3 separate regions of the Homo sapiens genome follow, and all the other regions are linked to region 3. The links are contacts of gene promoters, found by promoter capture Hi-C in blood cells and fetal thymus (Javierre and others, 2016). All regions are on one chromosome and are shown on one strand. Each heading gives the region's core, a stretch centred on a gene start or on the middle of the fragment in contact. The rest is flanking DNA. Distances are from core to core; before and after follow the strand shown. Region 1 holds the start of SLFN12 (schlafen family member 12). Region 2 has its middle 38 kb from the start of SLFN11. Region 3 holds the start of PEX12 (peroxisomal biogenesis factor 12).

Region 1 (3,156 bases), core at 648-3,147, 150 kb before region 3:
ACATCGAAAACCTTTGAGAGAATACAGTGCACCAGGGAGCCTATTATTATGATGACTATTGGGAGGATAATACCAAGAGTTTGGAGGATGCTCCTTGCCCAGGGTTCCCATAAACCAAACCAGTTAAAATTAAATAGATCAAATAATGAACTAAATAAAGAATCTACCAACTTAAGTAAACAATCTCCTCATTAATCCCCTACAACTGAATCTCTTAATCTTCATTTAATGTATTTCTCCATAGACTCTAAGTGCCAGCAGCTGCACAGATACTTCTCTGTTCAGCCAATTCTATCATAACTTTCACAAAAGAATTTAAAGTCTGTTGTGTAACTATGGCCTTTACAGTAGATGTTCTGAGAACATCTATCCTATGGGTTCTAGGTTGTGAAGGGGTTGATTGTTCTCAGTGAACCATAAAAAGCTTTCTTTACCTGGTGAAAATACACTGTAGCATAATCATGGGAAAAGCTTTTATACAACAAGAAAACATGCATTGAAAGTGACATTGAATAAAATCCCTTTGTAAATGTTTAAATGGCCCATCGGGTAGCCAAATGTACCTGAAGCTTTGATTGTCTTCCCAGGAATATGGATTTGAGAAACCAAACATTGGTTATAAACAACTTTAGCAATTTATAAGTCAGCGGTTTCCATGGCAGTTTGATTTTTAAAGGTCAAACTTCCTCGCACTTCAAAGAACGCTGAGGCCAAACAGCACCAAAGGAGAACATCACACTTTAACCCGACACAACCCTGCTTAGAACAGCAGCACAAGAGCCTGCATACATGCAACTCCATCCCACTTTACCATTCAACAGCAAACTCCAGATTCCAAACAATATTGAGGCCAAACACTACTGCAACCGGAAGAGAAAATTCTAAGGAGGGCTTAGTACTAGGCCTAAGAACCTCTACCAAAGGAACCCCCTTGGAGAGGCTGAGGTCCAAAGGATCCTCCAGAGCATCCCCCTTTAGGGTCCAATCTTAGAGCGTCAGACGTCTCTGACCTTAGGTGGTCACCAGTGCCACTTTACATGTTTTCCCTCCAGAGGGGATGGCCTACTGTGAGCTTTCCTTTTGTCTCTGGATGAAGGCCTTGACTTCTAGCATCCTTATAATTTGATAAGGCCATGCTTTCCCATGGTTCCCATTCCACTAGAGTGATAGTCATGAACTTTAATGATATGAAATGGAGGCTAGGTGGGTTTCTTTTAACCTTAGCCAGTAGAGTAGGGGAAGGGAAGAATTTAACATAAGGAAAGAAGGTTTAAGTCACCTGAAACACGTGTGAGTTCGCCCTGGAGAAGCTGCGTCACACATAGGGATCAGGGACCACAACCAGAAAAGACAGAAAAGAGCCCTTCCCGCTTCTGGGCAGGGCAACTATCCCCATTCACTCCTTGGCCTTCAAGGCAGCACTGGAGAGTAGCCCCCGGCCAGAAACCTGCAGTCGCCTCCGTGTCTAGGCGCTACCCACCAAGGATCCCACGTTGGAAAGGAAAAGAGAAAGAGAGAGATTTACCTGTATGGAGCAGAAAGGAAAAGGGAAAGGAGAAAAATAAATCCCAGACTTTGGGCTTACCTCCTGGTTGGCTTGCCAAAATATGTTACCAGTGAAGAGTGTCCAGGTTCTTGGCGTGTTGAACAAAGAACTGGACAAACACACAAACAAAGCAAGGAAAGAATGAAGCAACAAAAGCAGAGATTTATTGAAAACGAAAGTGCACTCCACAGGGTGGGAGCAGGCCCGAGGATAGCGGCTCAAGAGCCCGGTTTCAGAATTTTCTGGGGTTTAAGTACCCTCTAAAGTTTTCCCACTGGTTACTTGGTGTGCACACAATGTAAATGAAATAGGAGCCCGAGATCAGTCTGAATGGTTGCAGAAAGCGATCAATGGGAGGCTGAAGTGAAGTTACAAAGTTATGCCCTATGAAAACATCTGATTGGACGCAGAAAGCGAAGTTACAAAGTTACATTCCTATGCACATGAAGACTTGGCCCTGGAGACCAGTCTGATTGGTTGCGGGAGGGGACCAATCAGAGGTATTTTCAGTTTTTCATCTGCCATGTAGAAAAGGAGGGGCTACAAAGGAAGTTTGTGGAAAGTTGGGATTTTCCTCCAGACCCTTATTCTCCTGCTTCAGAAGGGAGAGAAAGCAGACCGGGATGGGGGTGCGGGGATCTTCCCGGGAGTGGTGGGGTTGTGTTACCAGTGCCCCACCTCCTCCCGAGCCAGCAGACTCCCCAGAAATGAAAAACTAAGGCTGGAAGGTTTAGCGATGGAGCAGGACCAACTTACCAGCTCGCGGTGCTCCCTAGAAGCTGGATTCTTCGCAGGTGCGAGCACACCCCAGATGCCAGCGTGGACCCTTGAGCAACTGGAAGTTAAAAACCCACGAAAACAGCTCTGAGTGATCTCTAGGGAGCTCTCGTTTCTTTTTCACCCATGTGTATTTTTTAAGACAAAAAGAAAAAAGGTAATTTAAAGAAAACAAAGAACAAAGGAACTTGGCGAGGCCCAGGCTACAGTCCGCGGGCTCACTCTCCACAGAGTAAAAAGAACGCGAATCCTTTTCTGTTTTCCGGCCCTCCCCATCCTGGGCTGCGGCTCCACACTTCCCCAGCGTGGCCTGCATTTCTATTGGGCAGCTGGCGCTCCGGAAGTGTCCGCACTCTTTATTATCGACTCTGCGCCTTTGGGCAATTGTCACTATTTTGGTTCATCAAAATTGAAGAAATACCAGGCATTCTTACCATGCCCCTAAAGGGGTGACTCAACCTTTCCAGCTGTACTCGCATTCCCAGAGCAGCACTGCTGCCCCCTTGCTTAAAAGCACGGTTGCCCCCAGGAACCAGGCCAGGGCAGCTGTGGATGGACAGGAGAGGACAAAGGTGCAAGGAGCGGATTGCTCCAGGACAGACAGATTCAAATACCTACCCCTGGCAGTGTAGGGAGCATCTTGGGGCCATTTGGGAGATTCCTTTATTGGGATGCTCCAAAGGCTAGTCTGGCCGGATACAGTCCTCCTGCCACTTTGCTTTCCTTTAGCCCCCTTATTATGATAATTATGGTAATACATGTTTTTCCTGCTAACTTGTCTAAGAATTGGTGTCTCAGTACATAGCTTTTGAAATGCACACAGGCCACGATGA
Region 2 (3,150 bases), core at 480-2,979, 240 kb before region 3:
CTCACGACACAATCCCTCACGGCTTCCTTGGCTAGGGGAGGGAGTTCCTCAACCCCTTGTACTTCCCCGGTGAGGCAACACCCCACCCTGCTTCTGCTTGCCCTCCATGGGCTGCACACATTGTCTAACCAGTCCCAGTGAGATGAGCCAGGTACATCCTTTGGAAATGCAGAAAACACCCGCCTTCTGCATTGAACTCCCTGGGAGCTGCAGACCAGAGCTGTTCCTGTTCGGCCATCTTGCCAGCCACCCCCATGTTTGTCTTTTTTAACTGCTGTTGCTTTAAAGTTTGTTTTGTCTGATATAAGAATAGCTATTCCTGCTCACTTTTGGTGTCCGTTCATGTGAAATGTCTTTTTCCATCTTTTTACCTTAAGTTTTTGTGAGTCCTTATGTGCTAGGTGAGTCTCCCAAAGGCAGCAGATGGTTGGTTGGTGAGTTCTTATCTATCCTTCAGTTCTGTATCTTTTAAGGGGAGCATTTAGGCTATTTACATTCAATGTTAGCATGGAGATGTGAGGTATCATTCCATTCATCGTGCTATTTGTTGCCTGTATACCTTTGTTTTTTGTTTTTTGCTTTTTAAATTGATTGTTTTATAGGTCCTGTGAGATTTATACTTTAAAGAGGTTCTCTTTTGATGTGTTTCTAGGATTTGTTTCAAGATTTAAAGCTCTTTTTTTGCAGTTCTTGTGGTGGTGGCTTGGTAGTGGTGAATTCTCTCAGCATTGGTCTGAAAAAGACTGTCTTTCCTTCATTGATGAAGCTTAGTTTCACTGGATACAAAATTCTTGGGTAATAATTGTTTTGTTCAAGGAAGTTGAAGATAGGGCCCCAATCCCTTCTAGCTTGTAGAGTTTCTGCTGAGAAATTTGCTGTTAATCTGATAGGTTTTCCTTTATAGTTACCTGGTGCTTTTGCCTCACAGTTCTTAAGTTTCTTTCCTTAGTCTTAACTTTAGATAACAATAACCTGATGACAGTGTCCCTAGGCAATGATCTTTCTGTGATGAATTTCCCAGGTGTTCTTTGTGCTTCTTGTATTTGGATGTCTAGGTCTCTAGCATGGTCAGGAAGTTTTTCTTGATTATTCCCCCAAATATGTTTTCTAAACTTTCAGATTTCTCTTTTTCCTCAGGAACACCAATTTTTCTTAGGTTTGGTCACTTAACATAATCCTAGACTTCTTGGAGGCTTTGTTCATATTTTCTTTTTTTGTCTTTGTTGGATTGGGTTAATTCAAAGACCTTGTATTCAAGCTCTGAATTTCTTTCTTCCGCTTGTTCAATTCTATTGTTGAGAGTTTCCAAAGCATTTTGCATTTCTAGAAGTGTTTCAGGAACATTGTTTCCTGAAGTTTTTATTGTTTTTTATTTACGTTATTTCCTTAAATATTTCTCCCTTCGCTTCTTGTATTATTTTCTGGATTTCCTTGCATTGGGCTTTGCCTTTTTCTGATGCCTCCCTGATTAGCTTAATAACTAACCTCCTGAATTCTTTTTCAGATACATCAGGTATTACTTCTTGGTTTGGGTCCATTGCTGGTGAGCCAGTGTGATTTTTTCAAGGTGTTAAAGAAACTCATTCTTAAATGAGAATAAAAAAGGAATTTATTAATCGCAAAAAGCAAATTGTAACTGCACAGTGGGGAAACCTGGCAGATGTCACTTTATCCAAATGATCAGAGTTAACATCATCAGGAATGGAACTAATCACTATCAAGTGCCTTCTAATACCATGAACTGAGAACCATAACATCCCTTCTATGGTATTCATGCCAAAAATGCATAACCTGCATCTAATCATGAGAACACATGGAATGACCCAAAATCATAGATACTCTGCAAAATAATAGGCCAATCCTCTTCAATAGTGTCAAAGATATGACAAACACTGATTAACATTTCCAGATTAAATAAGACTTAAAAGAAATGAAAGCTCAATACAATGCACGATCTTAGATCAAATCCTAGACCAGAATTATTTCTCATTTGCCATAAGACATTTGTGGCACAACTGATAAAATTCAATAAAGTCTGTAGATTAGATAATAGTATCAATGTTAATTTACTGATTTTGATGATGGTACTATAAATGTCCTTTTAGGAAATACCCACTGAAGTATTTAGAGGTAAATGGGAACCTGTCTGCTACTTATTTTCGAATATCTCAGGAAGAAAAATGGTAGAAGGAGGCACAGGGACAAGGCGAGAGAAGGCCATCAGGATCATCTGTGGTCAAAGGACTCTGGGCACACTGACATCCAATACCTAATTTTAAACTTTTGATTGTTTTATTATTATTTTGTTAGAGATAGGGTCTTACTCTATTGCCCAGGCTAGGATGCAGTGACATGATTATTGCTCACTACAACCTTGAACTCCTGGAATCAAGCGATCCTCTTGCCTCAGCCACTGGAGTATCTAGGACTGCAAGAGCACACCACCACACCCAGATAATTTTTCGTTGTTGTCTTCTGGAGAGGGGGTATCTATGTTGCCCAGGCTGGCCTCATATGATCCTCCCACCTCAGCCTCCTCCTGCTAATATTATAATTTAAGTATTTGCCTTTTGCTATGCTCAAAGTTTTACTTAGCCTTGTTGAAAGTAGGGCCAAGTGTTGACTGCTAATGTGTGAAACAAAAGATATGACTTCTTTCCATGCTTGGGATACAGAGGAGCATAGAGGAACAGAAGCTTAGAAAAGCCATTATGTCAAGCCAACTAGAAACTATCAGAGGCCTTGGTACAGCATTTTATTGCAAGAAGTGGCCGGAGACTACCAGGACAGATCTGTGGAACATGGAAGCATTCCTGGAATTCTCAGAAATCTCAATAGAAAGAAGCTAGGTTTAAAAAACAAAAACCTTTGTCTATTTACACATAATAAGAGCTCAGACAATATTAGTGGGTACTAAAAATCTCAGTGACACTGATACCTGGAGAATTTAGATACATTCCAATTTCAAATAAATAAATTTTTCTGCTATAAAGTAGAATAAATTAAACAAATATCTTGACCCTCCCTCCATTGCCCCTTGTGTCCAATCTAGAAGTAAGAGAAAGAGGAAACATAGGTGCTGTGGGGTTGTTGGTCATATAGATTCCCCAAAAAACAAGGAGAACCTCATCCTGGTGTTCAGAACCAAAT
Region 3 (3,051 bases), core at 1-2,500:
GCTTCTCCAGCTTCACTTTCAGATAGGGAAGAAGAACCAGGAACATAATAGATTTCCAAAGCTGCTGCTTTGGGAGACCAGCACTAGCCAATCTCTGAGACTTGTGAGTGTCCCCCATTACAATTCTCTTTAAGCCGTAAAAGTTTTCAGAAAATGAGGCACTGGTTCTAGACAGATAATGTTGCTGGAGCAGAAGATCTAGCAGAGTAAAGATTTCATCAAACCACCTCCACAAGAAGCCATAGTGGGTGGGATTTGATTCTGCAAGAACCTAAAGCAAAATAAAGCAATAAGTGAAATTCATTCCATTACACAAGTTCTACACCTATTTACATTCCCCCTTTTCCTCTAAAGTCTACACAATTTGTTTTAAATAAGTCACTGTTGGACCCTGAAATGCTGGGTATTCAGTACAGGTCTCTACACATAACAGAGACTCAGTAACTCTTAAGTCATGGGATACAAGTTATTTGCAAATTGGCTATTTCAAACGCTAGGCTACCAAATAAGCACAAATTATTCGTTTGTTTTTTACCCAGTTGTCCCTAAAACCTTTCCAAGAATTAATACCTTACCTTGACCACATGCTGAAGAGCGGGTCTCACTGCTGTCATTAAACTGTCCTGTGCTACCACCTCAAAGATGGATGGCTGGTCATCGGCCACAGAAGCAGCTGTGAAGTGAGCCCCGTGCTCAGCCATAGTTTCCTGCGTGTACTGGCTTTCACTTTTCCCACAAACTCTCTCGTGAGCATGAACTTTTTCGGGAGGAAGAGTATCAGATGGGTGCTCAGTCTTAAAGGTAAACTTTCTGCATGATATCTGAAACTCGAAACTCAATCTTATGGGCAAAAATGAACTGGGAAAAAAAGACCTGGAGGCCGAGGGTAGTCTCAAGAAGGTTAAGAACAAAGTTAACTCGGACGTGGGTGGAAGTAGTATGTGGCGAGGGGGTAACTTGTCAAATGCTGCACGTCAGGGCAGAGCGTGACTGTGGGGGACAGGTATGGGGGAAGGAACGCAATCCTCTGGAGCTGCGAACCAGAAACGCCCCCTCCTCCCCAATCGTGAGAGCTCAAAAGCCAGCCGACTCTGAGGATTCAGTCGTGCCACTGTGAGCCCGGGACACAAGGGCTGACTCCAGCTGTTGGCTTTGAGTATCCCCGCCCGCGCCCGTCCTTGCTCGCTGACCCCAGGCGAGGCGCAAACAACCCACGACGCCACGTTTGAAGGGAGGTCTCCGCTTTATGACAGAAGCCGCACCCGGAAATGAAACCACCAGGACCTCTGGGATGCCTGGCGGAAGAGAGGCGCTCTAGTTCCGAATGCGGTCCGGAAACCAGAACTAGAGAACTCTATGACCCACCTGAGCTTCCGCTCCCGCCCCGCTGAAACAGAAGAGGGCCCTTGTGGGCTGGTTTTGGCTAGTTTGGTTTACTTTTCGTAGCTGGGTCTGCATGGTAGCCTCGCTGGAAAGCTACAGCTCTGAACCTCTCTCTGCGAGGTCTTTTTGACAAGCTGTTTGGGGCACCGCGCAGACGTCTGGCGCCGGGAGCCAGAGCTCGGGCCCGTTGCTGAGCCCTGTGTTCCTGCAGGCGATGAAGCTAGGGGCGGTGGGAGGAAGGGAATCTGGAGGTGGAAAGGACTTTGCTGTACGCGTGCGGCAGGGATGGTGGTTAATTTATATGTCTTAGCCTTCCAGAAATGATTTAAAGCGACATAGCAGGAGATAGGAGCCTTAGATTTATTGCCGCCAATTATAAGGAAAGATGATTGGATTGAGAAAGGTTCATGCTTGTTCCTCAGTACTTGAGACGGTTAATTTTCATCCAAGCTGGTAGTTTAACGTCTTCCAGGTTTTGGCTATATTCAAGCATAACTGCATGCACTTGCTATACTGGATGAAAATGGTCTCCATCCTTGAACACAGTTGTATATGTCACCACCAGCGATATGAATACAGTACTAACGCAGAGGGAGCTTTATGAATTGTAACTAGCATGCACTGGGGACACTTGACAGAAAGTTTCCTTTCATGCCGTTTTTATACCAAAATGAATGTGATTTACCTTAAGGTTTGTAAAGTGCTTTTATGTTATGTACAGCTTTGTCTCGCTGAAGTTGGCTGACACAGCCTTATTGAATTTGGATGAGAGTTCCACCTCTCCTCCCTTCCTCTGGGAAGTGCCACCTCTGGGCTAAATAGCTGGGAATAGAAGGTATTGTTTACTGCCCTAGAGGCCCTTATGTTATAAAAATAATTGGTTTGCATAATGAGAACCCTCAAAAACAAGGTTTGGATTTAGTTATTCCAATAGGAGAGAAAACCTTACAAATTGTCCTTAATTATAGTTATAAAAAGTGTTTTTTACTCTACCAAAAGACATTATATTGATATATGATTTTTACCTTACAGAGTTTTAAGACTAGACATAGTTTATCCATATGAAGCACCTGGATACATATTAGGTGCTTGTTTAATAGTAACTGTTATGTACAAGCTTTTCTTAAGTGAATAGCAAAAATACAAAGTTGAGAGGTAGCATCAACTAAATCAAGCAGGAAATTAAACATTTTTGTCACTTAGGGATCTTTGGTTACAAGCAACAGAAACAAACAGGCTAATTTAAACTAAAACGGAATTTATTAGAAGTGTATGGAGTAGCTCACAAAATAAGTAAAGCCAGCCCTGAAAGAACAGGAACTTAACAATACTATTGGGACTGCCTAACAGGAATTAGAAGTTCTTATCCAGGCAACGTTGTTGCAGTGAACGAGCTTCCACCAATTTCTGTTTGTGACTCTGCTCGTGATACAAATTTTGACTGACCTCTCTTGGTTCAAGTTCCCTCTCCACCCTGTCTTTCACTCTTAGCCAGGGGAAGGCAGGATGTCTTGATTGATAGTCCCATGGAAGTACTCCAAAAGTTAACTAAACGTATGGCATAAGAACGCCTATAATCCCAGCACTTTGGGAGGCCGAGGCGGGTGGATCACCTGAGGTCAAGAGGTCATGACCAGCCTGACCAACATGGAGAAACCCAGTCTGTAC

What was found. The method cuts DNA at HindIII sites, captures the fragments that hold promoters and counts their contacts. A CHiCAGO score of 5 or more calls a contact.
Region 1: the fragment with the promoter of SLFN12 here is called in contact with the fragment with the promoter of PEX12 in region 3 in 17 of 17 cell types (total B cells, neutrophils, monocytes and 14 more); the score reaches 14.9 in total B cells.
Region 2: a fragment that was not itself captured here is called in contact with the fragment with the promoter of PEX12 in region 3 in 3 of 17 cell types (activated CD4 T cells, neutrophils and total CD8 T cells); the score reaches 6.8 in activated CD4 T cells.

Annotation. Positions count from the first base shown.
Region 1 is chr17:35,430,603-35,433,758 of GRCh38, forward strand. It overlaps SLFN12 (schlafen family member 12), which reads right to left and starts at 1,898. Exons shown (of 4, transcript NM_018042.5): 1 at 1,586-1,898. RefSeq lists enhancers at 1,808-2,533, 1,902-3,101, 2,030-2,249, 3,070-3,156. The HindIII fragment of the contact is 4,520 bases long and covers 568-3,156 here.
Region 2 is chr17:35,334,138-35,337,287 of GRCh38, forward strand. No RefSeq gene overlaps it. Among named protein-coding and RNA genes, the nearest start is that of SLFN11, 38 kb to the right of the region's middle. RefSeq lists an enhancer at 1-324. The HindIII fragment of the contact is 1,930 bases long and covers 765-2,694 here.
Region 3 is chr17:35,577,321-35,580,371 of GRCh38, forward strand. PEX12 (peroxisomal biogenesis factor 12) reads right to left here and starts at 1,251. Exons shown (of 3, transcript NM_000286.3): 1 at 576-1,251; 2 at 1-271. The coding sequence starts at 701. RefSeq lists an enhancer at 515-1,330. The HindIII fragment of the contact is 3,440 bases long and covers 1-2,498 here.